Linked DNA regions of Homo sapiens: regions 2 and 3 are each linked to region 1. Evidence: promoter capture Hi-C in human tissues and cell types (Jung and others, 2019). All regions are on one chromosome and are shown on one strand. The core of a region is centred on a gene start or on the middle of the fragment in contact, and the rest is flanking DNA. Distances in the headings are between cores, read along the strand shown.

Region 1 (3,128 bases), core at 73-2,572:
TGATTCATAGCTATTATTGGCTATTTTGATTGTTTCTTACTCCTAATATGTCCCCTATCAAACTGCAAATGCCTTGAGGTCAAAGGTCCTTTTTTGTCTAATTAGCATAGGACTGAACACTTGGAAGATGCTAACAACATTCCTCTGTTAAATTTAATAAGGATTTTAACTTTCCAAGTTCAATGGGTTTTGAATGACTCCTGAATATAATATATTATGCTAGGTGTAGTGTAATAGAGAAAACATTTGTATTACTTGCATTTTACAAGCTGGAGGAGAAGCAAGAACACAATACCTAGGGAAGATTTAGATTTAGTAAGAAATCAGAACGTCCCAATACCCCCTTGTATATGTTTTACCAACCTAGATTTAAAAAAAAAAAAAAAAAAGCCAGAATCCCAGGCAACATAGGGAGCTAATTTGAGTTCTTTTTATAATAAATCCTATAAATCCTTGTAGTTTACTTCCTTAGGCCAGACACTCCAGATGTTTTTGTGGATAGCAGCTAGGTCTCCTGGGACCTTGGATTGGGCCTTTCTCTAGTCAGGCAAATAATCTGAAAAGAAAACGAAATCACATGTAGTCCAGCACATTTTTTCCTTTCTTGGTTTCTCCACACCAGCTAAGAGTTATTTAAAGGCTCTGAACCTCTCCAGCCTTTGATTCTTTTTAAGGATGATTTTATTTTTAGAGAACTTTCCACATTTCCTAGTTATACAGCCAGACTGGGTGATCTGGCCAGAAAATCATTTTCCCTTAAAAAAAAAAAAAAAAAAAAAAAAAAAAAAAGCTAAAATTTGAACGCAGGCGTTGAATTCGAAACAGATTTATCATAACGTAATTCCCTGGACACTCCCAACTTGAGACTGAAAGCTGGGCGAAAGCGGTTTGTGAAGCTAACCTAAAAGACAAAATGGTCTAGAGCCACCTTTTCCCCGCAAATAACAGAGGATTAAGGATCTGAAATCTTCAAGCCTCCAGGACCACGGTGCAAGCCCTCAGCAAAAATTTCTGCTGGAGGCCGGAGCGCCTTTTGATTTCGGGAGACTGGCCCAGGAACTCTAGTCACTTGGAAGGCGGAAGAGAAGGTGGTACCTGAGCCAGGTAGGAGCCACTCAGAGGCAGCCCGGGGCCGCCACTCACCTAGGAGAGGAGGTGGAGTCCGATGACCTGGACTGAGAGGAAACGCGAGACTGAGTCTACCAGGTGAGGTAAAAAACACCCACCTGCTCACCTCGGAAGGGGCGGGCGAGGTGCGGCTCCCGGTGACCCGCGGGGGTGCAGCGCACCTGGGCGGAGGCGGAACTGGGAGGGTGTGGGCACTGCTCGTAGGGCCTGGAACTAAACTCACCTGTGACGGAGGCAGAGGAGGGGCCCGGGCAAAAACCCACCTGAGCTGGCGGGAAACCCGACCCGCGAGCAGTCCCCGGGCTTGCGCGGCGCGGAGAGGGAGGCGCCCCGCGGCGGGGCCCCCACTCGGTCAGCCCGCGCGTCGGTCCCCGCGCGGCCGCCATGACCTGGAGCGCCACGGCCCGGGGCGCCCACCAGCCCGACAACACCGCCTTCACTCAGCAGCGCCTCCCCGCCTGGCAGCCGCTGCTGTCGGCCAGCATCGCGCTGCCGCTCTTCTTCTGCGCGGGCCTGGCCTTCATCGGCCTGGGCCTGGGCCTCTACTACTCCTCCAACGGCATCAAGGAGCTGGAGTACGACTATACAGGCGACCCGGGCACCGGTAACTGCTCGGTGTGCGCCGCGGCTGGCCAGGGCCGGGCGCTGCCGCCCCCCTGCTCGTGCGCCTGGTACTTCTCGCTGCCCGAGCTCTTCCAGGGCCCAGTGTACCTCTACTACGAGCTGACCAACTTCTACCAGAACAACCGGCGCTACGGCGTGTCCCGCGACGACGCGCAGCTGAGCGGACTCCCCAGCGCGCTGCGCCACCCTGTCAACGAGTGCGCCCCCTACCAGCGCAGCGCGGCCGGCCTGCCCATCGCGCCCTGCGGCGCCATCGCCAACAGCCTCTTCAACGACTCCTTCTCGCTTTGGCACCAGCGCCAGCCCGGCGGGCCCTACGTCGAGGTGCCGCTCGACCGCTCCGGCATCGCCTGGTGGACCGACTACCACGTCAAGTTCCGCAACCCGCCGCTGGTCAACGGCAGCCTGGCGTTGGCCTTCCAGGGCACGGCGCCCCCGCCCAACTGGCGCCGGCCAGTCTACGAGCTCAGCCCCGACCCCAACAACACCGGCTTCATCAATCAGGACTTCGTGGTGTGGATGCGCACGGCGGCGCTGCCCACGTTCCGCAAACTGTACGCGCGCATCCGCCAGGGCAACTACTCGGCCGGGCTGCCGCGGGGCGCCTACCGCGTCAACATCACCTACAACTACCCGGTGCGCGCGTTCGGCGGCCACAAGCTCCTCATCTTCAGCAGCATCTCGTGGATGGGTGGCAAGAACCCCTTCCTGGGCATCGCCTACCTGGTCGTCGGCTCCCTCTGCATCCTCACCGGCTTTGTCATGCTGGTCGTCTACATTCGCTACCAGGACCAGGACGACGACGACGAGGAGTGATTCCGGCTTTCCAGGGATCCCTCCTGCTTCTTGCCAAAACTCTTGCAAGGTGCTTTTGGCATCTCCTCCTCGCCCGTCACCCAATTCCAACCTCGCCTAGCTTTTCCTCCCTTTGTGAATGAGGGGACCAGATAAGGGAATTACCCCCCTTGCTCTTGGGGGGCTGCTAGACTGTCTTGCCGCGGGGAGGGATGTTGACTGCAGAGTGAAACATCCTTGCAAACTCTTCCCACCTCCTTCACGACACTGAGTTGCCATGTGAGGTTCTTCAAGTCTGAGAGTGGAAGGGATCCCTATGGAGACTCCTATTAAACCCCTATTAGAGGAAGAGATTGAGAGACCTAGCAATGTGAAGTAACAAAGATCAGGCAGCTGCAAGTGACTCCTGAATCTTGAGTCCAGGGCTTTCGCCACTACAGTACAGTGGTTTTCTTTTCTTTGGTCGGGGAGAGTGGGCTGGAATGGAGAGTGAGGCCCACAAATTACCTGCAGAGACGTGGAGGCGTGAGGGAGAACATGCTTGTTAAATATGCAGGTAGATTAGGAGACACCAAACAGAG
Region 2 (2,977 bases), core at 410-2,909, 200 kb after region 1:
GTCCTGTAAAGCATATTTCCGGAGGGCTGGGGAGCCTAGGGAATTTGGCTGCCTTCATGCAGAGACAAAAGCTCCCCATGCAAATCAAACCACTTCGACTTGCTTCCCAGACTTGATTCTGAGCTGTTTTGATTTGCATCCATGAGGGTAGAACTCAAGTTCAGACTGAAGCTGCAGTTGGTAAGAACCAAAACCTATTGCATGCAGGTACAGGCAGTGTAAGATATATTTTTGGAAGGCACAATTTCCAAAGGAGAGAGTCAGCTCCAAATTCTCAGGTGCTATGACTTTCACCAGGCTGGGACCTGGAGAAAAAAGTGTGCCTTTGTCCATTTGGCATCACAGAGTCCCTCAGCTGAGCCTCTCCCCACAATAGGTCACATAACACGCCAGCTCTAGAGAACACGAAATCAAATTTGGAGGGATGGAATTAGGTGTGTATAGTGGGTGGGTGTCCTTATCATTGTCAGTCATAGGTATGAGAAAGTAGATGAAGAAGAGTAAAAGCAAGTTAGGAAGAAATAGTTCTTTAAAAAATTAAGCCTGCATAAAATTAACAGGTTATGTTGTTGTTGTTGTTATTGCCTTTTAATGCTTATTGTTCATGGTGCCCAATCTCAGGTTATTAACAGCTTGGCCATGTTAAAACCTGTATCCTGATCATCACTAGCAGGCCTACAGCAGAGACTGGAGACAGTGAGGATAAGAAAGAGGTGTACCAAGTGATCCTCTCTTGCTGGGGACTGTTCTAGAAGCTCTACACATGCTGGGGAAAGGAGCAGAAGCCAAAGACAGGTGAAACTCCCATTCCATGGATCCCACAGGATTTCAGCCTCAAAGAAATCCTTCGTTGTTCAGGGCACACTCTTAAACCATCAACACTCACCAAGTATACTGCACTGTACCATGAAGTCTCTGAGGTGGATGGGTAAAGTAGGGATGGGAGGCAGGTTCTGGATGGAGGATACAAAGGAGTTGGCAGATGTGGAACCTTTCCTAAAGGCTGTCGCAGGGTGGTTAGACATACAAATATACAAGAATTTGTATATTTTATCATTTAGAGAAATTAAATGTAGCATCAAGATGTTGAGCATAGGTTTCCTGAGTAATGGAGCAGTTACATTAAGTCATAGTCAGGTAAGTCCTTCTAGAGGAGGTTGAGTGTGGAAACAGGTTTTGAGGGAGAAGAAACGCTTTGGAGGGGAAAGAGAAAAACAACATGAATGGTTTGTGCAAAAGTTTGGAGGCAGGAGGCCGGGCACAGTGGCTCACACCTGTAATCCCAGCACTCTGGGAGGCTGAGGTGGGTAGATCACCAGAGGTCAGAAGTTCGAGACCAGCCTGACCAACATGGTGAAACCCCGCCTCTAATAAAAATAGAAAAATTAGCTAGGTGTAGTAGTGTGTGCCTGTAATCCCAGCTACTCAGGAGGTGGAGGCAGGAGAATCGCTTGAACCCGGGAGGCAGAGGTTGCAGTAAGCCAATACCCGCCACTGCACTCCAGCCTGGGCGACAGAGCGAGACTCTGTCTCAAAAAAAAAAAAAAAAAAAAAAGTTTGGAGGCAGGAACTCATAGGAAGTCTCTTAAGATGCCAGAGGTCTTGACCTGGCTCGGTGGCTCACGCCTGTAATCCCAGAATTTTGGGAGGCCAAAGTGGGCGGATTGCTTGAGCTCAGGAGTTCGAGACTAGCCTGGGCAACATGGTGAAACCCTGTCTCTACAAAAAGTACAAAAATTAGCTGGGCATGGTGGCGCATACCTGTAGTCTCAGCTACTCTGGAGGCTGAGGTGGGAGGATTGCTTGAGTCCGGGAGGCAGAGGTTGCAATGAGCTGAGATCACACCACTGCACGCCAACCTGTGCGACAGAATGAGACCCTGTCTCAAAATAAATAAATAAATAAATAAATAAAATAAAAAATAAAAATAAATAAATTAAATAATTAAAAAAAAAAAGATGCCAGAGGTCTTAATAGGATCTGAGGGCATGAGGAATTTTCCAAAACTCCAGAAAAAGTTCCTCATATGCCCAGGAGCTGAGACTTAAGAACAAATCAAGTGTGGTTTTTAGATAACTAGCCCTTGAAGGCCTAAAGTGCTTCTTTTTAGCTTTTGGAAGACGATGGCACTAGTCCAATGCAGAGAGGCAATTAATCTTTCTCTACCACTTCTACTTGATGTAAAGTCCAAGCTCAGCCTGGGTCCAGCATTCTCTACATCAGGATCCTACCCTTCAGCTTTACTTCTCAAATTGCTATTACATCTGTGCTCCTGGCAAAATTTTTACTTGTCATCTCCAAAGTATACCTTGTATTTTCCTGTACATATTGTTAGTATTTTCTTTCCAAACAGGAGTATCTTCCTTTCATTCTCATTTCTACTTTGGTTATCCTTCAATTTTACTTCAGTTGTTGCTTTCTTCACAAAGTCTTCCCCACTCACCCAGAAGGCAGTGAACCCCACCTCTATGAGCTTATCCAGCAGAGCTTTTAATGTTCATATTACTCACCAAGATATGTCATTCTTTCAACAAGCACGCACAGATGGCCTCATGTGCATGTGGCACATGCAATAGCCACACCCTGCGCTTCAGGGTATTACCGTCCCAGGTATTGTATAGAGGTCACCTCCATTGGATTGTAAGTTCCAGTAGTTTACCAACTAAAGAAAAATACTGTACCTACCTAACAATGCTTTGTGACAGGGAAAATCAGCTATTCACAAATGAGGCTGGAAATATAATTTGAGAATTTGCTCTCGCCAGAATAAAGTTCTAGATTGCTACAGTAGGGCTCTCTGATTTATTAAAAGCAAATTACTTTTTGTTTTACTATAGAAGTAACAACATTATGAAATGTTTAAGTAACTGAGTGTGGGAGTGATTAGACATCTTTTGGGAGAGTTGAGTAGAAAAAAAAATTGAGGAAAGCCATTTTACACTGAAATTAAAATGTATGAATACAAGTCTATTTATGT
Region 3 (3,088 bases), core at 550-3,049, 220 kb before region 1:
CGCCCTTAGAAAAGAAATCCGGCTGGGCGTGGTGGCTCATGCTCCTAATCCCAGCACTTTGGCAGGCCAAGGCGGGTGGATCACCTGAGGTCGGGAGTTCGAGATTAGCCTGACCAACATGCAGAAACCCCATCTCTACTAAAAATACAAAATTGGCCAGGCGTGGTGGCACATGCCTGTAATCCCAGCTACTCAGGAGGCTGAGGCAGGAGAATTGCTTGAAGCCGGTAGGTGGAGGTTGCAGTGGGCGATAGAGCAAGACTCCACCTCAAAAAAAAAAAAAAAAAAAAAAAAAAAAAGAAAAGAAAAGAAAAGAAAAGACAAATCCTAGAGAGCTCTCTCACGGCTTCCACCATGTGAAGTCTCAGTGAGAAGGCAGCTATCCGTGAACCAAGAAACAGGCCCTCACCCGACACCAAATCTGCTGGTACCTTGACCTTGCACTTTCCAGCCTTTAGAGCACTGAGAAATAATTTTCTGTTGTTTACAAGCCACCCAATCGATAGTGTTCTGTCATAGTAGTCCAATGGAGTAAGAAATACTTCAGACATTCAGCAATGAAAGAAGTGGGGAGAGAGGTATCTGTCTCTTCACTTCCTTCAGCTCTATGAAATAAAACCACAAATAAAAGCTCACTTATTTCCTTCCATGTAACTTTCACAATTGGTAATTACTTTTACTTGTTTGTGTGCTTACACTAGAATGCCTGCTTCCTGTGGGCAGGGAGCAGGCCTATTGTGGTCACTATTATATCTCCAGGCAAAAAATAGGTCTCAATTAACATTTGTTGAATGAGTAAATGAATGGATGGATGGATTAATAAATGAATACAAACCTATAAAGTTACAGACAAATTTATACCTCATGTAAATATATTAACATCTCATATAAAGGACATAAAACAAGAGGCGTAAGGGAAAGGCAATTTCCCCCAGTGTGTCTCTGAAACTAAGGTAGTGACTGATGTTAAAAAATAAATCTGTTCTTAATGCTTTAGTTACTAAATTTCCTATTTCTGAACGAGAGGAGAATACTCCATCAAAGGAAAATGCTGGAGAAATTCCCCTCCTACAGAGGGACCCCTCTCAATTTGTAAAAACACCCTTTTTTGTTTGGTTCTACCATCTTAAAGAAAAAAAAGTAGAAATGCAGACACCTCTTTGTATGATGACCATGCAGTGTACCGCCCAAAATGGGCCTCAGACGGCTGGGTGCGGTGGCTCATGCCTGTAATCCCAGCACTTTGGGAGGCCGAGGTGAGTAGATGACTTAAATTCAGGAGTTCAAGACCTGCCTGGCCAATATAGTGAGACCCCATCTCTACTAAAAATAACAAAAATTAGCCGGGGGTGGTGGTGAGCACCTGTAATCCCAGCTACTCAGGAGGCTGAAGCAGGAAAATGGCTTGAACCCAGGAGGTGGAGGTTGCAGTGAGCCGAGATCGCACCACTGCACTCCAGTCTGGGCAACAGAGCGAGACTCTCTCAAGAAAAAAAAACCCAATAAACAAAATGGGCCTCTGAGAGTAAAATGGGTCATGAAGGGGGATTATGGGAGCAAACTGGGACTTTTCTGGGCAAATGATGACATGGGGTCTGACCTACCTCTGCAACAGGTAAGTTAATCTAAGCTCATTCAAAGTTAAAACAATTTTTTAAATAATTCTTCCATTTAAAATGTGTTGTTAATTGAACCCTTCTTATCTTGAACTCTGATGAGTTTTTATCTTGAGAATTAATTCTTGCAAAGTAAAGTATCTTGAGCTTCTCTGGTAAGTTTTTGATTCTAGAGTTATATCTTAAAACACAAAGTATAACACAGGTCACTTTCCCTGGATGATATATCAAGTGAGATACTGTGAAAATACTCTGCATGGTAAGCCCTCGACTCTACCTCTTTCTTTTTATGAAAACAGAATACATGGCACAAAGCACAGCTGCCCCTGAGACATGCTTCAGAGGTAAAGCGCTTTGTAACAGATTCACTTCCTTTCCCAGTGCCACAGAACAAAGATTACACTCAGCCTTCCTGGACATAAAAACTTCAGTTTTTCCCATTCCTCCTGCCAAAGCTGAAATGCCGAGAAATGCTGGGAACCTGGCCTGTGATTATACACACTTCATATTTTACATTCTGAAACCCCAAGGAATAAGCTGTTGAGAACAGAGTCCTATTTCTTAAATGGCAGTTGAACAGATACAACGCTCAAGCTCTGTTGAGCGTGGCTTAGTATTTGCATAGGCAGAAACAGACAAAGACTGCACAGATTCTGCCAGTCTGTGGGCACCTTCCCGGCATATGTGGCAGACCTCAGTTAACTTTTCTCACTTATTTCTGTTTGGTTGTTTTTTAACCTTCTGAATTACTCAACCAGATTCTTACAGGAAAAAAAAAAAAAAAACCACTAACACACATACAAATCAGTCACAGGGAAACTCAGTTACGGCCTCTGACGGGTTTGAACCTGTCTATTTGCAAATGAGAAAACAAAATTTCAGTGTTCTTTAGGCCAAAATAGTATCTACCCTGCTCCTTGGTGCAGCAATAAAATGGACAGCCCCACAGTAATCAGATTTTGGGTTTGCTTTTGTCAAAATTTTCCTCCTCAGTTTTGTAAGTTGATTTCACCGCCACAGTATATTTTTCTCAATTCCACCTTCTGTGTAGGAGTCAAAAAAAAAAAAAAAAAAAAAGCCTGCTTCCCTTCCTCTCTTACATTCATTCCTTTCCTTCAAGAACCAACCCAAGAGCCACACATCCCCCAGGAAGGGCTCGAAAGGGTGAATTCCATGACTCAGTGTCACCTGCCTTCCTCTGCTGCTCGGCCCCATTTCTTTGTCAAAGGAGTGTTAAAATCCTCACTCGGTGAACTTGGGAAAGGCAAGCTTCTAGCTGCTTGGATTAAAGACTGAATACCCCCTCTTGCTTCATTTGCAAGATTTGGGGCTGCTCCCATCTGTTCTTAGAGGGCAGGAGCTCATTTTTAATTTTTTCTCTCTTGACATTATTTGGGACAGCGCCCATAGAGAAAGGTGTTTGAGAACTCCCTGGTGAATAAGCAGTCCACTCTGTACAACAGAAGGCACTC

The links. The method cuts DNA at HindIII sites, captures the fragments that hold promoters and counts their contacts. A contact is called where the count stands out against the background at its distance.
Region 2: a fragment that was not itself captured here is called in contact with the fragment with the promoter of TMEM30B in region 1 in 1 of the 25 tissues and cell types used here (mesendoderm cells).
Region 3: a contact is called between a fragment that was not itself captured here and the fragment with the promoter of TMEM30B in region 1, in 1 of the 25 tissues and cell types used here (heart left ventricle).

The regions. Positions count from the first base shown.
Region 1 is chr14:61,279,532-61,282,659 of GRCh38, reverse strand. It overlaps TMEM30B (transmembrane protein 30B), which reads left to right and starts at 1,322. Exons shown (of 1, transcript NM_001017970.3): 1 at 1,322-3,128. The coding sequence starts at 1,513. The coding sequence ends at 2,568. It also overlaps a transcript of PRKCH not described here. RefSeq lists an enhancer at 1,897-2,860. The HindIII fragment of the contact is 14,970 bases long and covers 1-3,128 here.
Region 2 is chr14:61,077,712-61,080,688 of GRCh38, reverse strand. It overlaps a transcript of SLC38A6 not described here. Among named protein-coding and RNA genes, the nearest start is that of SLC38A6, 98 kb to the right of the region's middle. The HindIII fragment of the contact is 7,669 bases long and covers 1-2,977 here.
Region 3 is chr14:61,502,607-61,505,694 of GRCh38, reverse strand. All of the region lies in intron 10 of PRKCH (protein kinase C eta), which reads right to left. Among named protein-coding and RNA genes, the nearest start is that of PRKCH-AS2, 41 kb to the left of the region's middle. The HindIII fragment of the contact is 8,499 bases long and covers 1-3,088 here.